Regions from separate parts of the Homo sapiens genome. Here region 2 is linked to region 1. Evidence: promoter capture Hi-C in human tissues and cell types (Jung and others, 2019). All regions are on one chromosome and are shown on one strand. Each heading gives the region's core, a stretch centred on a gene start or on the middle of the fragment in contact. The rest is flanking DNA. Distances are from core to core; before and after follow the strand shown.

Evidence for each region. Contacts are between HindIII fragments. The study calls those that stand out against the background at their distance.
Region 2: a fragment that was not itself captured here is called in contact with the fragment with the promoter of GPRC5A in region 1 in 1 of the 25 tissues and cell types used here (pancreas).

What each region holds. Positions count from the first base shown.
Region 1 is chr12:12,888,596-12,893,883 of GRCh38, forward strand. It overlaps GPRC5A (G protein-coupled receptor class C group 5 member A), which reads left to right and starts at 2,967. Exons shown (of 4, transcript NM_003979.4): 1 at 2,967-3,069. The HindIII fragment of the contact is 16,829 bases long and covers 1-5,288 here.
Region 2 is chr12:13,142,680-13,147,967 of GRCh38, forward strand. LOC124902882 (a long non-coding RNA gene) reads right to left here. Exons shown (of 2, transcript XR_007063215.1): 2 at 4,583-4,901. Among named protein-coding and RNA genes, the nearest start is that of GSG1, 42 kb to the left of the region's middle. The HindIII fragment of the contact is 4,042 bases long and covers 611-4,652 here.

The sequences.
Region 1 (5,288 bases), core at 1,717-4,216:
TTCTTCCAGAGAGCCAGCCCCCAGGGACACAGGTGCAGGGCCGGGACTGGGAGAGGCAAGCAAGGGGACTAGAGCTCAGGATTTAAAGGGGCACTCACTCTTAAAGTTGTGGAGTGCCTCCTTGAAATCTGTGCTCTGGTTGCCTCATTGGCCTCATCTAGTCCTGGCTTTGTGCAGGCAGGTGTCTCCATAAAGGGATAGGAGGAGACCAAGAGGTTAAGAGGAGAGTAGAAAAGAGAGTACTAAGAGGACAAGGTGGGACATCCAAAGTCAATGGCACTACTCAGGAGGCTGAGGCAGGAGGATGGCTTGAGCCCAGGAGTTGGAGGCTGTAGTGAGCTATGGTGGCCTGTGAATAGCCATTGCACTCCAGCCTGGGCAACATAGTGAAACACTGTCTCTAAGAATAACAACAACAACAAACAAAGCCAATAGCAAAGTGAAGAGCAATGACTGAAGACAGGTTCAGAACAAGCATCCCCACACATGCTCTCTGTCTCACACACCCTGGACCTGCCAGACAGATACCATCCAGAGAACAGTGAACAAAGGAAAGATCAAATACACTCATCACATTCTCATTAGGAGGACCTAATGGGAATGTGGTCCTGGGGAGGGGGTGTAGAGATAGGGTAGGATCCCCAAAACCACATCATCTTTGTTCTTTCACCATCCTCAGACTTGACGTCTTTTGCTCGATGTCATGAAACTCACCCTAGACATGGTGATTCAGACTCCGTGCTGGAAGAGCCACCAGGGACAACTAGTCCTCACTATCCAGTGTGGTAGCCACAAGCCACACACACTTTTTGAGCAATGGAAATGTGGCTGGTCCACACTGACAGGTGCTTTAAATATAAAAGACACACTGGGTTTTTGAGGATATAGTTGGAAACCAAAGAAGTAAAATAGCCCCTTAATATTTTTAAAAATATTGATTACATGTTGAAATGATCATATTTGGGATCATATTTGGGTAAAAAATATACAGTGTTATTAAAATTAATTTTCCTGTTTCTTTGTACTTCTTTTAATGTGGCTAGAAATTTAACATGACATATGTGGGCCAGGTGTGGTGGCTCCCACCTGTAATCCTAGCACTTTGGAAGGCCAAGGCTGGAGGATGGCATGAACCCAGGAGTTTGAGACCAGCATGTGCAACACAGCGAGACCTTGTCTCTATAAATAATAAAAAGAATTACTTGGGAGGCTGAGGCGGGAAGACTGCTTGAGCCTGGGAGGTAAAGGCTTACAGTGAGCCATGATGGTATCACTGCACCCCAGCCTGGGTGACAAAGTGAGAGTGTCTCAAACAAGAAACAAACAAAAAAATTAGCCAGGTGTGGTAATGCACACATGTGGTCCTGGGTGCTTGGGAGGCTGAGGTGGAAGGATAGCTTGAGCCTGGGTGATTGAGGCTGCAGTGAGCCGATTGTGCCATTGTACTCCAGCCTGGGTGACGGCGAGACCTTGTCTAAAAAAGAAAAAACACACAAAAAATAAAAAACAAATGTGGCTTATGTTTGTGGCTTGAATTATAGTTCTATTGTACAATGGTAGTCTAGTTCAACTTCTTGAACAGACGAGAACGCTGGGGTCCGGAGAGAAGCCCTGACTTAGCGGATGGCACACACTATAAAGCACTGTCATTTGCAGTCCCACCAGTCTCTCAGTACCCACCCCCACTCTGCCACACACACCCCTGGGAGTCTTAGGTGTGAAATGGGTGGACTCACAGACCCCTGGGCTGCATACCTCAAAGTGTTCCAACACTCAAGGCACTGCCTGTGGTTTTTTGGGAGTGAAATAAAAACCTAACAATGGTGGGGTCACAGTCTCCAGTAGGTCACATTTTAAAAGCACTTTAGGCTCTGGAGACTTGGGGTGTGGGGAGAAGTGAAGAGAAAGCTGGGGAGCCCTGGGCCTTCCCCCATTTCTTCATATGCAGAATAATCCAGATTAGTTTACCAAGCGCGCTGATAACCACTTTAAAAACAGAGTCCCTCCTGCCTCCCCGTGGCATGGGGTAGAACCTGGCTTGAGCCCCGACACAGGCGGGCAGCCACTCCAGGATCGTTCCACACGTAAACAAAGACGAGTTTCGGTCCGATTGGCTTGATCCTGGAAGAGGAGTGGGCAGTGGAGGGAGGGGAAACCAGGCACCAAAGCAAATTCCTTCATTTCATAATTTCATCTGGCGCCCCCGTTCAATCAGCCTGCATTGTCGAGGCTTTAGGAGAGGCAGTTAGGAAAGGAGAGATACTGATCTCTCAGCCCCAGGGCAGCACTAATGGTGCCTGTCTAGACTCTGACAGGTGGAGCTGCTGAGCTAACTACGGACCTGGTGGGGGAAGTTTTCCTTGGCTTTCACGTGGCTTTGGCTGGGGAGCCCTGAGAAGGTGGCTGCCTCCTTTTTCTGAAGCCTGGCTTCCCATACGGCAGTGGCTGGGGGAGAGTGATGGAGAGAAAGGCTAAGCTAAGGTCAAAGAAAGTGGAGGAAGGCTGGCTTGTCCCGCTGGACTTGACGGCGGAGCTGCTGCAATCTCGCGGGCTGGGCCCTTGCCCCGGGTGGACCCGAGTGCCTGCGGGGAGGCGGGTGTGGCTCCCCCGGGAGGTGACAGCTGGCGGGGCCCGTAAGGAGCTGGTCTGCTCCGGCTCCCCTCTCGTAGCCGGCGCCCTGGGACCAGCGCGTGAGCACGTCTCGGAGGAGTCCGATGCGCTGGGCAGGGCCGGGTGGTCACCCCCGCCCAGCTTCCAGGGGTGACTGTGCCTCTGACGTCAGACGGTTTTTGGGTCATTCCCTGGCACGGGGACTTTATTTTCATAACAGCATGAAGTGCCGTGGAACTGGAATAGGCGTGTCCTCTCCCTCGACCCTCCCCCTCCTTGTCCCTCTGCTCACCCCTCGCTCGTTCCCTCCCTCCGGCGAGGGCCGCCTTTATAACAACTGCTCAGAGTGCGAGGGCGGGATAGCTGTCCAAGGTCTCCCCCAGCACTGAGGAGCTCGCCTGCTGCCCTCTTGCGCGCGGGAAGCAGCACCAAGTTCACGGCCAACGCCTTGGCACTAGGGTAAGTGAGGCGCCAGGAGCCCAGAGCGCTGGGGCCTCCGGATTTAAATCGTCTGGGGAGAGCGGGGCGTTGGGAGGGGTGGGATAGAAGAGGAGAGAAATCCTGGTAATGGAATACAGTTGGCTATGAGAAAAAAATTCCCTAGGAAACAGTTCCTCTAGTTTAACAACTCAGATTTTTTTTTTTTTTTTTCCCCTTTGCGGGTTTCCTAGGCTAAGATAGAGGCAGAGAGCAAAGAGATAATCAGGGTAATAGTTTCTGCTCGGACACATTCTACAAACTTTGAGTAGATGGAATCCGGCCAGGCAGGAGGTGAGCAGCTCTGGGATCACTCTGCAGGAAAAGAATAGAGGGAGAAAGATCTCAGAGGACCCGAAGGTACTGGGAGTGGAGGGGGAGTGGGAAACAAGGGGCAGGGGCAGGAGGGAGGACACGGTGACAGCTACTATTTTACCCAGATGCTGCAAAAAGCCCTTCTGAGTTTTGGGAATTAGATCTAGAAGCCCATCCCTTTTCTCTTGATGTGTGGGCGGTCAGTTCCACTCTGGTGTGCCTTGAGTTGCTCAGAAACCTGGGACAGATGAAAGTTGAATGTGCGCTGAGAGTGCACCTTCCACTACCGACTTTATGGATAGGATTTGGGAATAGCATAGATGCTGTTCCATCTGGTCCCTTAAACATCCATGGGGAAGGCTGGCAAATAGCTTTATTTTATTTTTTGAGATGGAGTTTCACTCTTGTTGCCCAGGCTGGAGTACAATGTTGCGATCTCAGCTCACCGCGACCTCCACCTCCCGGGTTCAAGCGATTCTCCTGCCTCAGACTCCCGAGTAGCTGGGATTACAGGCATGCACCACCACTCCTGGTTAATTTTGTATTTTTAGTAGAGACGGGGTTTCCCCATGTTGGTCAGGTTGGTCTCAAACTCCCGACCTAAGGTGATCTGCCCGCCTCAGCCTCCCAAAGTGCTGGGATTACAGGTGTGAGCCCCCGCGCCCGGCCACAGATAGCTTTAAACATCCATGGGAAAGGCTAGCTAACAGCTGAAACCTGCTCAGAATCAAGGAATTTGAAGGACTTTCCATTCCTGACTTCTTTCCATTCCTGATTGTCTCCTCAGAGGCTTGTGTAAACACCACACCTGTTGAAGGGTTCGGCCGAATCAGCCACTGCTGTGGGTTCATTCCTGAAGGGGAACACTTCAGCTACTTCAGACACAATGGGCTAGGGACCACGGGAGGGGTGAGGGCGGAGGGGGCACACACCCTCCAGGTTTGCATGCCGGTGTCTGCTAGGTGAGGGAAGGAATGAGGGGAAGGAAGGGCCGGGAGAGGCGCTACGTGGGAAACAAGGGACCTCTCCAAGGGCGTGGAGAGGTGAGTGCCTCAAGGGCAGAATGGAATGAGCAGAACCCTTTGGTTTCCCGGGAAGAGCTCTCAACCTTGAGTCAGGAAGACTGATTTCTCCTCCCAGCTCCGCAGGAACATGGAACTGTGATCAGGCAAGGGGCTGGGCCTGAGTTCCTCATAGGGGTCTTGGGGAGGCCCCCAGTTTCCCCTCCTGTGTTTCGATTCTGGCCCCTCTCCATCTGCACACGTCGCCTTGGAAGTTCCCTTTAGAACTGGCTTTTTTGTATTCTAGTCTTGAATGGTAATCGAAGACAACAGGGTATGAAGAACAATTTTGACGGCGTGATTTTATTCTTCTCATTCTGGGTCCACTACTATTTAAAGTCCCAAGATTAAGCTGAGGAATTAATATGGTGGTATAGTAAACAATAAATTGAGGAGTATTTTTGCTTGAGGAATCTTTGACTTCCTGAGTAGTTCAGGGTGTTTGCTTCTTTTATTCTCATTTTTATTGCACTGTGGTCAGACTATATGGTCTGCACATTTCTTATTTTCTAATTCCAGATTTGTCTTTGTATTCTAAATATGCTCATTTTTGGCAAATGTTCCATTTGGACCATGGACCATAGTTCCTATTAAGCAATCATAATAGAGTAGAGATGGCAAACTATGGTCCATGGACCAAATATGGCCTATAGCCTCTTTCTGTAAATAAAGTGATTTTTGTTTTGTTTTGTTTTGTTTTTGTTTTCGTTTTTTTGAGATGGAGTCTCGCTCTTGCCCAGGCTGGAGCGCAGTGACGTGATCTCGGCTCACTGAAACCTCTGCCTCCCGGTTTCAAGGTTTCAAGCCATTCTCCTGCCTCAGGCT
Region 2 (5,288 bases), core at 1,382-3,881, 250 kb after region 1:
TTTGGAAGGCAGGGGAGGTATTATTTGCACTGGTGGAAGTTTAAGAGCTTCCTAAACATGGGGAACAGCATGAACGAAGGCTTGTTGCTCTGGAAGAACATGGCTGGTTCAGAGAATAAACTGGAGTTTACGTTTGGGGCAGTGATGGGGGCAGTGATGATGGCATTGGAGACCATGCAGGGACCAAAAGCACACCCTATGATGGGCACAGCTGGAGGAAAGGGTGGTCAGGAACACTGTGTCCACTCCCTGCCAGCCCCACCCTCCAGCCTCTCTCCTCTTCCTTTGCCACTTCCCTCCACTGCCAACTACTTCCCGAAATGGCCAGATCTATCATTCTCCAACGCAATTGTGTTGTGTGGGCTCTGACTCGCTGAGTGTTGTTTTCTAGCTGAAGACACGTATGTGTTTCTGTTTCCTGAGCGTCTTTTATCTAAGGATCACCCAGTAATCTGGAGACGTCAAATTACTATTAATCTCTAGGTTGGTTCTAAATGTAGGTGGGTCTTATGTTTCTGTTTAATAGTTACACTGTGGCACAGCTGCCCCCAGGGAACCCTTGAACCAGGATGGGGACTTGAATGATATTCCATTTTCTCCTTTGTCATTTAGACCATGAAATACACATCTTCAAGGACCATGGAAATATTGCCTCCACTTCCCTAGAAAGAAAGAGAAAGTGACTTCCATATTGAGACACCTCTGGAAAAAATTAAGGAAATGACAGTGGAATTTCTGAGCAAGAATTTATTTAAGATAACTTACGTGTCCTACCTAAAGCCTGGAGAGATTTTTTTTATCAATTAGAATCAGATCAGGTCACATATAACAAAGAAACCAAAATAATAGTGTTATAGACAAAGTAGAAATTTATTTTCTTTTTAAATAAAAGAGGTCTAGAGATAAGCAGTCCAGGGCTGATATGATCATACAAACTGTCAGGGATTCAGATTTCAGTCTTAACACCCTTACCCTCTGCATGTGGCTTCTACCTAATAGTCTGAGGTGGCTGCTCAAACTCCAGCCATCACATCCACATTCTAAGCAGGAGAAAGAAGGAACAATGAAGGAGGGGAAAAATGGCATCTGACAACTGACTTATAAAGAGATTTCCCGGAAGCACCACATGTTGCTTCTGCTTATAGCACATTGGCCAGAGCTTAGTGGAGGCTGGGAAATATTGTGATTTCTCCAGCTGCCATGATGAGAATAGAGAGAAACTGCAGTAGGCAACTAGCAGCCTCTGCCACAAATCCCACTATCAAGAGTACAGCACTGTACCTGTGATCAGCGAACTGACATACCCTTGCTTATCCCCCATCCCTGGTGGCAATGAGGCCCAGGGGCCTCAGAGAATCATGTCATGGTGGCAGGGGCTCCTCTAGAGTCCTTAAGCCCCATACTCCATACTCATAGGCATGATCTCTGTGATCTGATTCTTACTGGCTCTAATCTAAACACTGGAGAAAGGAGAGGCTGTCCCAATTTGTGATCACAGTAGCCCTCCATGAGCACATAACATGGAGATATCCTACCTCTTAGGGTTCCATCCACATGACATTCACTCATTCCAGGCAGAGCTAGAAATATCAGGGCTCTTATGGAATTACTTTCTCAGATTCCTTAATTTTTTCCCAGAGCCTCTGGTGTTTGGATGTTACATAAGAGGTACCTGGCATCTTTTTTTAGGCAATAGTGAGCATGGGCTTCCTGTGTAACCTGAACTGTACATATATGAGTAAAAACAGCAGGAAAAGAAGAGGAGGAAGTAGTGGTTCATGTAGAGAAGTAATGGCAGGCAGGGAGGAGGAGGAGGAGGAAGGAAGTGGGTGGGCCAGACCAGCCCTGCACAAATATGTGAATGAATCCAGTTTCCTTTCAGGGTCTTTCCCTATCTTTGGGCACAATCCCCTCCACTTACTCTCCTGTCTGCACAGCCCTGCACTCATCACCCTCAGCGCCCTCCTTAGTACTGCCATGACCAAGCTTCCCCTCCCTCTTCAGAACCTAAAGCAACATCTACTGCACTGTCTTGAGGGATTCACAGAAGCAGTAACACTTCAATAATGGCAAGTAAATGGCAGGCTCTCAAAATATGCTATATTTACCCGCTCTTTCCAACAAGTTTGATAAGCTCATTCACTTCCATAATGAGCAAGATAAGAATGTACTTCTTCTACAAGCCATATTTACATTGTAAGAGAGATTTCTAAGCCTAAACCCAAAGATATATCAATCACCTTCAGTAGAATTAGCAAAGGGAAAAGAATTGGGTAGGAGGCGCCTCTCTAGGGCTGGGGCTGGGGTTCCAGGGCCCTAGCAGGAAGGAGGGAGAAGTGACACAGGGCTCATGTCCACCATGAAACTGGCGTGTGCCTAGCACGGTGTCAGCTTCACACTAAGTGAATAATCCATAATGAATAAATACATGACAGGGGATTTAATGAGTGGACACTTTACAAAGCTGTGGGTTAAGTCTGAGAACCAGGAAGGGATGGTGCAGTATGCAGGGATTAACAACGGGGAAATCCTTACATCTCTCAGCCTGAACGGGCACAGGGAAGGAGTGGCTACCAGATCTGCACTGTGGCTGTTGGAGAGGGGACATCGGATAGGAGCTATGGCATTTAGTAGAAGAACACAACCACTGCTTAAAGCACAGCCTGGCAGGAGGGAATAAATACCTGGACTCTCTTATCATCCTCCAATCTTTCATCTGCACCTCCCATTGGTCACACCCACCAGCAGCCACAGGTGCAAGGGACCCAAGGTGGGTTGGTGGGGAACGGAAGAGTTCATCCTCCCAAGGGCAGGATGGAGAAGGTGGAAAGTGGACCTGGAGGGACAAATAGGAAATCTAGTACATTAGTCTTTAGGTTTATATTGTAGTTTGAGAGACAGACTGATACATAATTCTAACAAAAGACAGTGAGATAAGACAGTAATAAGATCAGACAAGGTGACTTCACTGGGGTAGAGGATCCCCCTTGGGAGTGGAGAGAGATAAAGTGGGATGGATATCAGGACCACTCAGCAGAACATTTTTAAGGGACTTAGGGCTGAAAAAACAAAACAGCACAGAATGTCCATCAAGGTCATTAATAGAATGTATTATTGACTCATTTTATAAGAAAAACTTTTCAAAGGCTACTGGCAGGCCCTGAGTATGGTCTGAGGTCTCCAAATCCTCATATCAGATGTAAATATCCATCAAGGTCATTAATAGAATGTATTATTGACTCATTCTATAGAAAAACTTTTCAAAGGCTACTGGCAGGCCCTGAGTATGGTCTGAGGTCTCCAAATCCTCATATCAGATGTAACTATCCATCAAGGTAATCCTCCCCAGGGAAGGGAAGTCCCTTCCTTCCCTACCTCCCTCCCTCCTTTCCTCTCTCCCTGTGTCTTTCCTCCCTTCCTCCTTCCTTTCCTGCCCTTTCTCCCTCCCTCCCTCCCTCCCTTCCTTTCCTTTTTCCTCCCTCCCCTCCCTCCTCATGGGAGGCAGTGTGCCTGCCCTTGGCTCTTGGTTGGTGTCTGCCCTCACATGTCTTCATCACAGGACAGATTTTCTTTCTGTCCCATAGACCAGCCTTTCCAGACCCTTTTTGAGGGACAGCAACGCTTCCTTGTTGCTGGCGGGCAACCATTCTTGTTTAGGGAGATGTGAAGGTTTTTCAAAAGAAACAAGCCATGTGGACAAAGGAGTGGAAGGAAAGGTTAGGATTCTGGAGATACTGGGCTAGAATACAAAGGCTACAGGTCCATAGGGAAGAGGAATCTGGGGAAGACTTAGTCAAATGTTCTAGGGGAAAATATTGAAATGTCAGCGGGTATCTCTTTCCTTCTTCCCTTCCATGAGGAACAGGCACAAATATGAAGGAGAACTGACCTCAGAAGTTGGAGGCAGAGCTTTCTCTCAGCTCACTTGACCCAGAACTGACCCTTTTAAAGCTTTATACCAGGAATTCAGCAGTATATGAGATCCATTCACATAGTCCTAGAACCATTAAGCAATGCAGACAGACTCTTGGAACGTGGTATGGATTTCTGGCAGTTCCCCTTGTGACATGCGCCCCTCAGCCTGTCTATTGGGACCTGCTTGTTTATCTTTCTCTCACTCTGCCAGTAGTCATTGACCTGGTTTCATCATTGCTTTGGAGAGCTATTCAGTATGTTCCTCCTCTGTCCCTAAAAGCCACTGCTCCTTAATAACTCAGTGTGTGGCCAGCCTATTCTGAATTCTCTCTGAGGCATCCCTCTAGATTCCTGTTTTTATTGAGTAGCTACTGTGTGCTAGACAATGCAGTTCACTACTTTTACTCTGATGGGTCTTCAGATCTCAACAGGGTCTTCATATTGGTCTCCATTTTTAACAGCATAGTGGTTAAAAGCACTGACGTTGAAGTCGGCTTCTGCTATTAGCAGCAACATGATTTTGGACAAGTCCCTTAACCTCTTTGAGCCTTAGTTTCCTAACCTGTAAAATGAGATTGATATTAGTTCCAATTTCATAGGACTGTTGTGGAAATTAAACGGGTTAATATGTATAAAATGCTGGGCTCCATATCTGACCCATTATGAGTTCTCAATAACAACATGCTTTTATTATTCTCATTTTGGGGGTGATTATAATGACCCAGGGCACAGGGTAGTCCTCTTTGGAGTAGAGTGTGCAAATTTTCTTCTCTGAATTGCTCTCTGTGATGGGTTACAAGGATCTTCCAAGCATAGAGAGGATCTAACAGTTCCCAGGTTGATCTCTCCATAAAACTCCATTTTCCCATGAAGAGGAGACTATAGAGTAAGTTCCAAGATCATTAAAGGCAACTGTAGGCATCTTGTAGAGCTTCCTTGCAATCAGAGAGCCAACTAATGTTGGAGTTAAAGGTCCTTAGAGAGCACTTAAAAAAAAAGAGAGAGACTTACAGGTTATGATCACATCAGAACTAGTGGCAGCCTAGGCCAGAAGTCATTTCTCCTAACTCCCAAGGCAGCATTCTTTCTACCCCACCAGGATTTCTCATGTTGTATATGTTTTGCCTATCTCTCTCTGTCTTGGTTTACCTTCCAACCTTCATTCTTTCTATCTGTCTGTCTATCTATCTATCTATCTATCTATCTATCTATCTATCTATCTTCTATCGATCTATCATCATCTATCTATTATCTATCTATTTAATCTATCATCGATCTATATCTATTCTGTTATCTATCAATCATCTATTTAATCTATCATCGATCTCTATTCTATCTATCTATCTATCTATCTATCTATCTATCTATCTATC